Linked DNA regions of Homo sapiens: all the other regions are linked to region 2. The links are contacts of gene promoters, found by promoter capture Hi-C in blood cells and fetal thymus (Javierre and others, 2016). All regions are on one chromosome and are shown on one strand. Each heading gives the region's core, a stretch centred on a gene start or on the middle of the fragment in contact. The rest is flanking DNA. Distances are from core to core; before and after follow the strand shown. Region 1 overlaps PSTPIP1 (proline-serine-threonine phosphatase interacting protein 1). Region 2 holds the start of PEAK1 (pseudopodium enriched atypical kinase 1). Region 3 overlaps PEAK1 (pseudopodium enriched atypical kinase 1).

Region 1 (4,387 bases), core at 249-2,748, 420 kb before region 2:
AGGTGCAAGCATATTGTGTACATAATTTTGTATTTTCCCTTTCTTTTACAAATTTTTTATTTTTGCAGAGATGAGGTCTCCCTGTGTTGCCCAGGCTGGTCTCAAACTCTTGGGCTCAAGCAATCCTCCTGCCTTGGCTTCCAGAGTGCTGGGATTACAGGCGTGAGCCACCATGCACGGCCCTCCCTCCTTTTTTTTTCTAGTATTTTAAATTTTATTTTAAATTGTAGCGAAATACACATAAAATGTACCATCTTAACCATTTTTGTGGTGTATGGTTCAGTAGCGCTAGGTTTGTTCACACTTTGCCACCCTCCCCTTTTTTTAGCGTAACTCACTCCATCGGGAACACCTGTGGGTGTGGACATGGGTTCCTCATTTTCAGCAACACCACTGTTCATGGCTGCACAGTTCTCTAGCTTGTGAATTTGGTGACCATGCTGTGATTTTTTTTGCCCAGTCCTCCACTGCTGAACATTTAGGTTACTGCCAATTATTTATTATTCTGGACAGTGACACCATGGGTAGATCTTTGACTATAAAGGTTTTTCACTTGGGGATTATTTCTTTGGGCAGAGGAGGCTAATGGCTATTTTCCAGGGAAGGAGGCATTTCTGGGTGAAAGAGTGGGGCCAGTTCTCCAGCCATGGGTACTAGCAGTCACTTTGGGATCCCCCATAGTCCTCTGGTTGGGCAGGAGCTTTTTCACACAGGAAGGAGGGACCCCAGAATGGCCTGGAAGGGTCAGGGCCTGTGGATGGGGCCCTGCTGGAAACCAGAGCCTGCACTGACTTTGTGGAAGGCCTTGCAGCCCAGCAAACTGCTGTGGCTTTGAGGGCCAAGGAGGCCAGTGGCTGAGGAGTGGCCCTGGTGCACTCAGAGCTTGCAGACAGTGCAGGAGGTGGGAGAGAGAGGCCCTGGCCATCCTGCCTTTGCTGCCACCAAGTACCTTCCCGGCACCTGCCTGGCTGCATCTGTCAGAAGCAGTGAGGACGGAGGCTCTCCCTTTCCTGATTGGGAAAGCTCTTTAAGACCTGGTGTTCCCTGTAAAAAGCAGAGAGCCTGGCAGTGCACCTGGTCGGCAACCCGTTGTGAAAAGTGGGGAAATAAGCATTTATACTGGCGCAGGCTTGTAGTATTAACAACAAAAATCTGTGGACGGATGCACAGGGAGCTAATTAAAGTGGTTGCCTGTTGGGAGAATGAGAGAAAGGAGATGGATGAGGGATGAGGCTGAGCGGCTGTGAACGTTTTCAGGATTGATGTTTTTATACTGTTTGATTTTTGAACCATATGAATGTATTAATTATTCAAAAATTAAATCAAACAATTAAAAATGAAAAAGAGGACATTTATTTCAAGTCCCATGAAGAATTTTTCCCTGAATCCCAGCTACTTACATCATCCCCTGAGGAGCAGCAATGCTGCCATTTGCTGAGTGCCTGTTCCATGCCAGGCATGCTGCCATTCAGTCCACATGCCCCCAAACGCATTGTCAGTGTCTTCCTGACTCTGTGATGGGACCTAAGGCACGGCAGGTCTAGGCCCAGACGAGGGTCACCTGTGCAGGGTAGAGCAGGGACTCCCACCTAGGTCTGTCGAACTCTATTGCCCTCTGCCCTGAATTCTAGAGAGTTTGTTCTTGCTTCTACTTTAATTTGTGTAGGATGAAAGGATGCTTCCCTACATGTTAACACTGGTGTCTATGGATTTGGAAGTAGGATTCTCTCCATCCCCCATCTAATTTTCTGCAAGTCAATACAGAGTACCTTTGTCATTAAAAAGAAAATATTTAAAAAGAAAACTAAGCAATTCCTGCTTTCAAGAATGAGTTGGTGTTTCTAGGCCAAATTTGTGGTTTGCTAGCATGCCCTTTTCCACATGCTCGGTGCATATTTTGTGGTACGTGGGCCTCTGGGGACCAAGAACTTCGTTCATCTGTGCCCATTCCACAGGACGTGGCCGGCTGCTCAGGTGTTAGAAGATTGCAGAGGTTTGTGGTCATGCTTGCTTTGCTTTTGCGATGCCTGCAGATGGTCACTGCCAGGATTTGCTGGCTGCAGGGTTCTGGGTCGATTTGGTGTTCTGAATTCAATTTTATTCTTGATAAAAAACAAGATCTGCTTCTTGATGACCCACTTTGTGCTCCAGTCCCCTGGAACCCACATGCTTTTCCTGGCTGCTCCTGACATCTACACAGAACTAGGGCAGCCCCTGGGATGGAGAAGGAGGGCCTTGCTTTGGGCTTTGAAGGGTGGGTGAGGATTTGAGACATGTCAGGAGGACAAACGGCACTCAAGGTGGGAGGTACGGCATGGGCAAAGGTGTGGAAGGGGGTTTGGAAGACAGTTTTCTGGCCCAGAGCATTGTGCAAGGTGACTGGTAGGAAGGGAAGGCACGAGCTGGATTGTGAAAGGTCTCTGCCCTAAGTGGTGGCAGAGATACTTTCTTCTGCCTCTCTGCACCCTCTCTGGTGGTGGCTGTTTCCTCTCATGCAAAAGAGGACAGAGGCTGCGGGCTGTGAGTGGGATGCCCTTCCTCCTCACCCAGAGCCTGGCTGACGCTGCAAACCACATGATGGAGGGAACTTTGGGTGGAAACCAAGACTGCCTCTGCTTCCAGCTAGAGAGCATGATGCCCTGGGCCCTGGGCTGCCCACACCAGGACTCTCCTCTGGGTTGGCTCTGGAAGGTTCCTCCCTCACAGACTCAGTCATGCTCCATCCTCCAGGCTTAGAAGGAAATCGGCTTCTTGGGAGGCCGAGGCGGGTGGATCATCTGAGGTCAGGGGTTCGAGACCAGCCTGGCCACCATGGTGAAACCCTGTCTCTACTAAAACTACAAAAAAATTAGCGGGGCATGGTGGCGCATGCCTGTAATCCCAGCTACTCAGGAGGCTGAGGCAGGAGAATCGCTTGAACCCAGGAGGTGGAGGTTGCAGTGAGCTGAGGTTTCACAATTGCACTCCAGCCTGGGCAAAAGAACGAAACTCCGTCTCAAAAAAAAAAAAAGAAGAAGAAGGAAGCGGGCTTCTTTGAAGCCTCACCCAACCCTCACCCACACTTGCTAGGTGGCCTTGGAGAATCATTTTCCCTTTCTGAACCTCAGTTTCCTCATCTGCAGGATGTCAGGGTCGTCATCACTTAAGATAAGGGCTTTGAGGTTGGGGCGGCTCAGGGCAGTGCTAAGGGACCACCTCCTGCTCACCACAGTGGAGTAGCAGACCAGGAACAGTTCCCAGGGGACCCAGATTTATAATTGGATATGCACCCATAGGGTGAGCCTTATACATAGATCTTGCTGTTTCAGAATGCCTCCTCCAATCATGTTCACCATTGCATGTTATACTCCACCATTAGAGAATCATTCCTTTGGTTTCAAGTAACAAGATGATCTATGTTATCTCACTTAATTCCAACAATAGTCCTGTGAGGTCAGTATTCTTATTCCTGTTTTACAGAGAGGAAACTGAGCCTCTTGGAAGGAATGTGGGCCTGGGGGATGCCACACAGATGGATCGGACTGGGCTGGGCCTGGATGCCACCTTCCCAGGTCTGGGTCAGAGAGCCCTTTGCAGTTAATGGGAGGGTGTGTTGGTTTGCTGAGGCCTGGCACACTGAGCAATGGGTGATGGAACAGGCAGGAGAGCGACAGCTCCTTCCACTGGTGTTGACAGGCCACCCACCATTGGGCAACAGGAAGTGCCAGCTGGAGCCCTGGAGACCAGCAGCCAGTGTGGGGATGTGGTGGCCAGATGGAACTCAGGGCTTCCCAGCTGTGGAAACAGGAACGGGAAACAGCCACACTGGGGAGGAAGTCAGGGGGTGATGGGCTGAGGCAAGAGCATGCCTGCGTGGCTAGAGAGAGTGACCAAGGTGGAGAGTAGTTGGAGATAAGGTAAGAAATAGAACAGTGGCCAGGCGTGGTGGCTCACACCTGTAATCCCAGCACTTTGGGAGGCTGAGGTGGGAAGATCACTTGAACCCAGGAGTTCAAGACCAGTCTGGGCAACATGGTGAAACCACTTCTTAAAAAAAAAAAAAAGTACAAAAATTAGCTGTACCTGGTGGTGCACACCTGTAGTCTCAGCTACTTGGGAAGCTGGAGTGGAAGGGTCACTTGAGCCCAGGAGTTGGAAACTGTAGTGACTGTATGATCGCACCACTGCACTCCAGCCTGGGCAACAGAGCAAGACTGTCTCAAAACAAACAAACAAACAAACAAAAAAAACAAAGAAAGAAAAGAGAAGCAGAGAGCCAGATCTTGTAGGACTGTCATTCTAAAAAATCCCAATGCCCAGGCCACACCCCAGGTCAATTACACCCCGATTTCTGAGGGTAGGACCTGGACATCAGTATTTTTCAAAGTTCCCCAGTGCCTCCATGTGG
Region 2 (4,979 bases), core at 755-3,254:
AATGTTAATAGGCTACAAACATTATTGTGAAAGTTTCTGTATACTATCAACTGGATAAAACGAATAGTTGAGGTATCATAATAGTTCAAAGTGATCTTATCTTTTTCTTTCACCAAAACACTTCTCTTCCAACCCTAGAACACAGCCACACATAAATTTTAGCCTCTAAGTTGGGACAGGAGATGGGGGGTAGTGAGGGAAAAGAAGGAACATACATTAAAAAGCCTTAAAGAAAATAATTTGACATTTTTTCCCACATAATGTAGTCATGTTAGAGAATCCAAAATAAAGACATGATAAAATATTTCCCTTTCCCCCCCGACAGCAATGAAAAGGGGATGTTTGTTTTTTCACATAGTTTGTGAGTTGGTCATATCCAAAATTCACTAGCAATGCTATGACTTCTACTTCCATTGTTCATCTCTGGGCTGAGGCTATAACCCTCAACTTTGAAGCCAAGAAAATGTACCATATCTGCCATTACAGTTTACTAAATAAGTCACCAAAGAGAAGTCCCAGGCAAGTCAGAAAGTAATTAGGGTCGTCAGTGAATTGAGCTATCTAGAAATGCTCTGAGATTACGAGAGAAGCCATCATGAAGTGAGTATCCAAGATTGCTCATGGAAAGTTTTACCCCGGTGGATAATTCACGTTTTTCACTTCCACACTGCAGAGAGCAATATGGGTTCTCTGACTATACACATCACTACATCACTTCATTTATCGGGGGAAAAAAAAAGACGCTGTGGCTGAACAAAAATCAGTAAGTAGGCCCCAAAACAGAATCCTCAAGGCAATCCCAATTCAGGTGAAAAGCTGTTCACGTACATCATCCAATGACCTAAAAATAGTCTTTTATGTAAGTCTCTAAGTATTTAATTCAACGTATGATCTTACCACATTCAACAGAGGCAGAAAAAAAATCAATTAGGTTTTCTATAGCAAGGCCAATAAAGATGAAATCATAGTTTTCCTCTAACTCATCACTACCCCCTCAACGTCAGCCTTCCAATAACTCCATTCCACAGCTCTCAAATTCCTGAACTTGGATCTTTAAAAAACAACGAATCGCAAAAAGTAACATTTAACAGGCCAGAGGCAGGCGGGGGAGGAGGGTCTCTCCCGGTGCTCTCAGCAATCTTTAACGTAGCCAAAGGAGGAAAAAACGAAATCAAGCTCCCAGACGGATGGTGCATGCGACGAGAGGGGAGGGGGCAGACGCGGTTCAGACGGCAAGTCCCCATCGAAGGAGGAAAGAAAAGTTGCAAGAACGGATGGGTCAAAGGGCAGAAAAGAAAAAAACTGAGCAGCCGAACCACTCACAACCCCCAAACGACCCCGCCAGCCCACACGTTCGCGGGCTCCCCAGCCGCGGCGCGAAGGGAGCAGGCAGGGAGCCACCCGGCTCCGTCCCGACGCTGCCGGCGAGGCTGCGCCGATGCTCCCGGGTGCGGGAGCGGGCTGACCGTGTGGACCCGGCAGGAGCCAGAGAAGCCCCTCCTGCCCCGGCCTCCCCGCGTCCAGCTCCTCCAGGCTTCACTTTCCCCCGCAACCTCCCAGCCGCGCCCGGGGGCGTCCCTCGCGGCAGGTCCCAACTTTCCTTCCTCTGGGGGGCGTCGCGCTCCCGGGGCCGCCGCCGAGGGAGGGGGCAGGGGCGGCAGGGGGCGCGCGGCACCGGCGGGGCGCGGGGGTGGCCGGGGAGCTAGAGCCCGCGCCGGGCGGGACGCACCGGCCGCCAGAGCCCCGGCGGCGGCGCCACCCAGAACCCGCGCCGCCACCCAGAACCCGCGCCGCCCCGCCCGGATTCCCCCGGGTCAGCGCCCTCAACCCGCGGCAACCCTGGTCCCACAGACGGCGCGTGAGTAGAAGACAACCGAGCGGACGCGGACAGCCGGGCCGCTGTTACCTGAGGGGCGCACACGCCGCCGCGGCGACCACCATCACCGTCCGTCCCGTCCCCTTCCTGGTGACCACGGCCGCCGCCGCCGAGCAACTGACACTGACTAACAACAACTAACTAACTACTCGCCGCGGCCGAGTCCACCGCGCGCTCCCGGCCGCTCGCCGCCCGCCCAGCCCACCAGCCTGCCCGCCTCCTCTCGGCCCCGCGCGCCGCCCCTCCGCGCGCGCCCTCGCCCGCTCGCCGCGCTCCTGGAGCCGTGAGCACGCGCGCGCTCACGGGCCCCGGTCGTCTCCCAGGTCTCCCTCAGCCCCAGCGGGAGGAGTCACCGCCAGGCCCCTCCTCTCTGCCTTCCAACCTCCAGAGGACGAGACCTAAAGGGTGCCTGATTGGCTGCGGAGGGCGGGGCTAAGACAAGGGGCGGGGCTGCCGAGACCTTGGGCCCGCGTGAGGGAAAATTTGGGTTCGATTAAGCCGCAGAGGAAAAGACCAGGGGAGTCTGGGCCCATTTGGGCGTCGGGGCCCGCTAGGTCAGCCGTCATCGAATACAGAATATGTTTTCGAGGACGCTAATATGTAGTCATGACCAATTTCAGTTCTTCTACTTTCTGCGGGCCTTCGCAATAAAAAAAAAAAAACTACATCTCCCAGAAACCTCCACGAAAATAAGGCTCACCTTGCGTAACCACGTAGTCCTTCGCCGCATTGGGGCAAAATAATCCCTTCATTTTTGTGAAGGTACCGTGGAAAATATTTCATTTTTCTTCTCACCGGAGCAATTGTAAATGCTATGCGGTAAGAGGAGTTACCTGTGGAAAGGTGGTTAAGAGATTAGGTAAAGAAAAGGAAAGGACACCAAAATAAAGTGCTGCGGAAGAATTTTTGTCCAGCTGTGAGACGACGAGTGCGTGAAGTGAAGGCGATTGAGAGGGGCTGAGGGAATTGTCCTCTGTGGAAGGGACTTTCTTTTGGCCCTAGGCCCCTTCCTGCCCCTGTCGTCAGCAGGTCAGTAAGCAAGGCGAGCTTGGGGGTGGCCCCAGTCGAGATGCCCTTCACCCCTTGAAGATCACCCCTCTTTTGGTGGTGGTGGTACTGGTTTGTCTCAGTTGGAGGCCGGCTGAATGGGGGCGCCTCAACTTCCGGTTGGGGGAGGGGAGGAAGGCCGTCCTGGGGAGGGGGGACACCCTCACTTCCTGTGGGGGGGTGGTGATGGTTTGGGGGTGTCCGACCCACTTCCAGTGCTGATGAGGGCTTGAAAAGGTGGTGCTTGGTGCCATTCGCGGAGACATTATCTTGCAGCTTGGGGATTGTGTTTTATGTGAAAAGTTAGATTATTCCAAGTTGTGCTGAACACCAACCTGCAGTCAGAATTTATGAGTTTGCTTCCACGTGGAATATGGAGCATTTCCTCCCCAGCAAAATTGTCTGTGTTTTCTTCAAAGAATTCGAAAGCCCTTGTTAAAAATCTCTATGCACCTTTGCAAGACGACATAGCTTGTGTGACTGATGAATTGCCAACACCTGCACCCCTACTCAAGTCCAGCCTTGGCTGGGTGAAGTGTGGTGCCCTCTGCCTTGACATGCAACAGGAAATCTAGCTTCTCTTTTAAGGAGATAACTTTTTATTTAGGGGACTGAATATTTTACATAAAATCTGGGGCATTTTCATCTTAGCAGAATGAAAGTATCACACTGAAGTACTCAAATTTGAGGTTACCTTAACTGATAAAATTGACATCTTAAATTATTAGGACTGTTGATTTTGGGCTACAGGTTTTGCCCTGTGCCTGAGAACAGCTTCTTCAGCCTTAAAAATTCTTATGTGTAGCTTACACGTAACATTTTTGAAAGTTGTATTTTATTACATTTTCCTCCTTTGTAATTTAATTCATCACTGATTTTTAAATGGTATCTGTTCTTTGTGGTTTTAAAGTATAAAGCAAGGGTCATGAGACTCAGCTCAGATTCTAAACAGGAAAAAGTTGGCTCACAAAGGACAAAAGGTCAATAAGAACTTTCTGGTTTTCAGTAGCTCATTTTTAATAAACTATATGTGAGGCGGTAATAAACACTCAATAATTTTGATTCCTTGGTTCTGTTGTCAGATAACACAATACTTAGAAGGGTGTGTGTCTGTGTATTGAAGGAATCAATCTATTTGAAGCTTACTTTGTGAAATCTGAATGTTAGTAATTTTAGTATATATATCAGTGAACCTAGAACTGTATTGTCTTGCAAGAATTTTTGAAGTAATAAGGCCTGTGTACTTTTTCTTTTGGGATTGTACTTAATCTAGCCTCAGACTCTGCGATTATTTTAATTCTATAATAGTTTTTTTAAAAAGCTGTTTGGTCACGCCTGTAATCACAGCACTTTGGGAGGCCTAGGCGGGCAGATCACGAGGTCAGGAGTTCGAGACCAGCCTGGCCAGCATGGTGAAACCCCGTCTCTACTAAAAATACAAAAATTAGCTGGGCGTGGTGGCGTGCGCCTGTAGTCCCAGCTACTCAGGAGGCTGAGGCAGGAGAATTGCTTGAACCCGGGAGGCGGAGGTTGCAGTGAGCCAAGATCGCTCCACTGCACTCCAGCCTGGGCGACAGTGAGACTCCGTCTCAAAAATAGATAAATAAATAAATAGCTGTTTGGGTTAGGGTTCATTAGAAAATATGTTTTAAACCAAATATTACAGTAAAAAAAAATACATGTTTTAATCTTCTGTGGTCACTTTTAAAAAAGAATCTAAGACCCTAAAATCAAGTATGATTTATATTTTGAAAGACCACACGATTGCTGCAGTAGTTGACTGAAAAAGCAAGACAAAACATTGTCTTTGTGGTTATTAATAGGTTAGGAACATGTAGACTGCCCGAAGTAAGAATTAATTGATTAAAGAAGAAGTGTTCACTATCTTCTATATTAATGTAATATAGAAGAAAATATAATATGGTCACCCTGACAAATGAAACTGTAGTGTTAGGAATTATTGAAGTATGGAAAGATTGTAGAACTAAATGAAAAAAATAGAGAATATCATGTTAAAATACTGATTGAGATAGAGTAATATTGCCTTTTGGAAACT
Region 3 (4,626 bases), core at 1,913-4,412, 300 kb before region 2:
GATTCAGATAGGACCCAGTTCTGAGAAGCAGCACATTCTGATTTCCATTCAAATAGATTAAAAAAAAAAAAAGATCAAAGACAAGGGAGTCTCAGCGGAGAAAAGCATCTCTCTCTCTCTTTCTCTTATTCTCTAGTTTATCATATTTACTACAGTTAAAGAAGCCTGATATCAGTGATCAGTGCCATGGAAATCAATCAATCTATCTATCTATCTATCTATCTATCTATCTATCTATCTATCTATCTATCTATACCTCAGCACAAGTTCCTTCAAGTCTTCTACTACCTATCTAATTCAGTTTGAGGATATACTAAGTATTTCTTTTTTAAGCAAACTTCTGGTCTTGAACAGACATCCCCAGCCTGAGTTCAAGTTCAAACATATATCTTTCAGAAAATATTATCTCTGGAAAGCTCTCGAAGTCTTAGTATATGCAGTATAATATATAATCCTATATGCTCATCAATCATAACATTTGTTATTTTTGTAACTGCACTGTTGGCAATATTTCACATTTAAGTGTTACCAGGTATTTAAAAATTCTATACTAGTCATTGTTTAGTTGTATAGGAGTTGGATCCAGCACATGGCACCATTATCCCCATTGCCAGTTAAATTTGCTCAATATTATATTGTCTTCTGGAATGAAAGCTCAAGGGTCTCAACTCTTCATACCACTAAATTTGGCTGAATCAGATTGGATGGTTAAACTCTAGCTGTTACATTATAAAAAATGACACTCTCCAAGGGCTTGGGAGGCCTGGGATTTAGCTTTGCTACTAGCTGTATAACCTTGAGCATTTCACTAATTTCTCTGGGTCTCAGTCTCCCTATTAAAGGAGACAATATGAAGAACACTGAAATCTACTTCACAGGGCAGTTGTGAGGATTAATTGGGATCAAGTATATAGCGTACATCTGTAAACTACAAAGTTGTACAAATGCAACACTGATAATGACTAAAGCAGTTAACAACTTGCAAATGTCAAACTAATGCAATCTTAGAGAATCCTAATTTTTTGAAACAATGAGCAAAACAGAAAAATAGATCTTTATTTTGAGTCCCGACAGCCACCTGCCACAGCAGTGAGGCTCTCTGATCACAAATTTGATAGAGGACAGACAAAAAGAAACTGCTAACATTCAATACCTCCAAGCCAGGGTCAGCCCTGACAAACAAGTTAACACCAGCAGTATGTTAGAATCCAAGACAGGGCAACCTAAAGCTATGAGAGAGAATTGTTTGGCCAAGTCTAGTTTTTAACTATGTCAAGTCAGGCTGAAAAAAAAAACTGTGACCTTGTAGTTTAATATTAGAAGCAGAGAAGGTATTCTAATTGTGACTCGTATTTTAATTGTGATATTCTAATTATATCTAGACATTCACACAGACACACACATTTTTATAAGGTCCTCCAGAGCTTTGTGAGTAGACAAGAATGTGGATACTACAATAAGAATTTATGTTTAGCTTCACAGATCTACTTGAGATAAAGGATCAAAGTGATTTACGAAGAAGAAATGATAAATTGTTTCACGATTTTGGATGCTCTAAAGGAAAATGGTCTCCCTAGATAGATAACCTGAGTGGGCAGCACTTCCTTATCTCTTCATTTTATAATACATAGACAGGTTGAAGAATAATGAGTCACTCTAGCTTTAAGAGCAAAGGCAAAAGGGAGAAGACTAGAGTGTAAAAGAGGAGGGAAAAAGAGTGATTTTACTTGGTTCATAACCCTGAAAACAGTTACAACCCAAACACAGACCAATGGAGATTTCCATAATAGGATTTTGCTTGATGGGTATCTCATAAATCTTTATTATGGAGCCTGCAATGATGTTAATTTAGGTAGGAGTATTATATTATTCTAGGTACCACATTGTAGCCATTTTTCAAATATTAATAACTCCTTTAGTTAAAAAAAAAACCTCAAAATGACCTGACTTCAGATAACAAATTTCTAGTTCAAAAGTTATTTCAGAAAACAAACCAATTTTTCAGAACAAATGGATAGGGTTCTTCCTGTCAAATTTTTTCCTTCTGCCCTTACCCAGTATTTTCTCTACCAGGGATTAAAGTAACTTCTTCTTGGCTCTCATTATCTTTCTTGAAAAGAATTCACATTCCTTCTTTATAAAGAGTAGCTGGCATCTCAAGAGTAGCAGGAGGAATCTCAAGAAAGATTCTACTTGTTCATGCCAGCTACTCTTTAATCTATAAATGATTACTTCAGGACTCCTCCTAGGACCCCCAAAATTTAAAAATAGGAATAAAAATAAACTAGAACTGGAATGGTCCTACATCTTCATTAAACATTCCCTTTTCTAATAGGGGAAAAATCACCTCATATTTGCCTTGGCTATGTTTGGGAAAATCTACTTAAAATGCTGTGAATTTGGCAGATTCTGTGCTGTCTATATTTTCTGAAAGGCAAGAAAAAATGCTATGAGAGCCTGAGCCACAGTGACACTAGAGGGAGCTGCAATATCAATATCCAGGAGTCATTTACTTATAAACTGTGCAGCAGGAGAACAAAACCAGGCTGCTGAAGGTTGAATCTTCTTGTAAAATACACCATAGGGCCTCTTTCTGGATAAGCTTTTGCTTCTATGATGCTGGCAATACCAAATGCATGCCAAGGGAACTCCTCGTGTGAAGAGCACAGACAGGAAGAGAAGCCCATCCTGGGCACAGTGACCCTCGCCCACTTGCCAGCTCACAGGAAATGCCCGCTTGAGCTATTCTCCAAAGGAGTCAGAGGAACATCAAAAGGGACAGCCAGTCAGCTGGTATATACATATGCACCAACATGAATAACCTACAGTTGCAAAAACAGAGGCTTGAAGGGAAACTGGCTGCTTGTCTGGGTTAATAAAGATCAGTGAGGACAGAGAAGGGAAAAATATTAATTCATTATCAATTGATCATTCAAACAAGTATCTCATGGCTCCTGAGCACTTCCCATCTGTAAGACACAGCATCCTGAAGCATTCTGACCAGATTCCTAAATACAGAGGGTGGGGACCCTTTAACCACTGATAAATCATCTGTTGGAAAACTGGGGGAGAGGGGAAACAACATATTGTCTTCCAGAATCATAGCCAAATTACCCTCTCCTGAGACCTTCTCAGACTCGGGTCAAAGAACCCAACATTTACAATCTTAGCAGGGAAACAGAGCTTGAAAATGATTCATCATGCACAACCTGAAAAGTTTAATTCCAAACATACATTTCAGTTCAGGGGCTCATTTTCCATGTTGCTCATGACAACTGCCCTGCATACCTTTAAGGCAAATTTGTCATTAAAAAGCATTTATGTTTGTAATAACTTCAACCTAGAGAGCTAACTTCTAAAAAGTAGACCATCAGGGGCTTTGACTGTAAAGTCCCATTAAAAATAGCTGGGGAGAAGATAGTGCTGTCTAACACTACTGAACCTTTCAGAATGATCACAAAGCCTGGGACCTGTGAGAGGACATACCTCTTGATGCTCTCTCAACAACAGATACTCTGTTTAAGGCAACTAAGTCAGAGGGATAGGGGGAAAGGTGGACCTGTGCAAAACTGGATGATATGACTATGGAATTAATCTGTCGTTGAATGGCATGGTGTTACTCATTCTTCTTCATTGACCCTTTTTCCCAAAGGTTCCGTGAAGTGCTGGTGTTTGGAGTGCCTGCTCTCCATCCTAGTTTTTCATTGACAAACTCTCTTCCGCAAGCTTGCTCATAGCTTCAACCATGTCATATACACTACTGACTTCCGTGTCTACATTTGTAACGCACCCTTGTCTTTGGGCTTTAGGCTCATCTATACAATGACCTACTTGATTTCTTCCCATATATGTCCTAACCCATAGATTACTTAAACTCAACATAACCAAACCTGAACTCTCCGTCCCACCAAACTCACTGCTTTCCCAGTACTCCCTCTCTTGATGAATGGCTTTGTTACCTGGATGAGAAACCAAATTCACTTTGGATTTCTCCTGCATCTTCACTCCCTATGGCTAATTAATTATCAACTCTCATTGACTTTTCTTCTAAATAACTTTCAAATTATCCTCTTTTCTCCATCTCTATTGCTACCTTCATCACTTGCCTGGACAACCACAAAAGCTTTCCAACTGGTCTGCCTGCCTCTAATGTGATCCCCTCGAATACATCTTCCACATGGCTACAGAGCCATTAAAAAACAACAGCTGGTATTTCCTCCTTATTTAAATTTCCTAGCGGCTCCGCTTTATCCTCATAGGAGAAAGTCCTGGCCTTGCCTCCCTTTCCAGTCCTACTTCCCACCTGTGTTCCATTTGCTCTTACTATATTGAGCTATCTGCAGCCGGCCACCCACTCTACCCTCCAGGTGTTCTCTCAGTTTGGGGCTCCTTGTCACCCCTCATCTGCCTGAGGGATTCCTACTTCTTTTAAAGCCCTTCTCAGGCATTACTTTATCAGAGAGAGGAAGTGCTAAATACCCTAAACCCCCTTTCTGTGTTACTTCTATATCTTGTACATATCTCTATTATTGCAGTTATCACATTTTTTATCTTTAAAAAATTTTTGTTTTTTATAATTTTTTTCAATTTTATTTTAGATTCAGGGGGTACATGTGCAGGTTTGCT

The links. Contacts are between HindIII fragments. The CHiCAGO score rates a contact against its expected background, and 5 or more counts as called.
Region 1: a contact is called between a fragment that was not itself captured here and the fragment with the promoter of PEAK1 in region 2, in 5 of 17 cell types (neutrophils, naive CD8 T cells, naive CD4 T cells and 2 more). The highest score is 9.6, in neutrophils.
Region 3: a contact is called between a fragment that was not itself captured here and the fragment with the promoter of PEAK1 in region 2, in 2 of 17 cell types (M0 macrophages and total B cells). The highest score is 5.7, in M0 macrophages.

Annotation. Positions count from the first base shown.
Region 1 is chr15:77,000,659-77,005,045 of GRCh38, forward strand. The region is part of intron 1 of PSTPIP1 (proline-serine-threonine phosphatase interacting protein 1); the gene reads left to right. Among named protein-coding and RNA genes, the nearest start is that of PSTPIP1, 7.7 kb to the left of the region's middle. The HindIII fragment of the contact is 8,762 bases long and covers 1-4,387 here.
Region 2 is chr15:77,418,100-77,423,078 of GRCh38, forward strand. It overlaps PEAK1 (pseudopodium enriched atypical kinase 1), which reads right to left and starts at 2,005. Exons shown (of 10, transcript NM_001385026.1): 1 at 1,907-2,005. It overlaps HMG20A (high mobility group 20A), which reads left to right and starts at 2,789. Exons shown (of 10, transcript NM_001304504.2): 1 at 2,789-2,905. RefSeq lists silencers at 1,391-1,600, 1,611-1,780, 2,031-2,350 and enhancers at 2,801-2,850, 3,241-3,290. The HindIII fragment of the contact is 8,449 bases long and covers 1-4,062 here.
Region 3 is chr15:77,116,502-77,121,127 of GRCh38, forward strand. All of the region lies in intron 9 of PEAK1 (pseudopodium enriched atypical kinase 1), which reads right to left. Among named protein-coding and RNA genes, the nearest start is that of TSPAN3, 48 kb to the left of the region's middle. The HindIII fragment of the contact is 1,124 bases long and covers 2,601-3,724 here.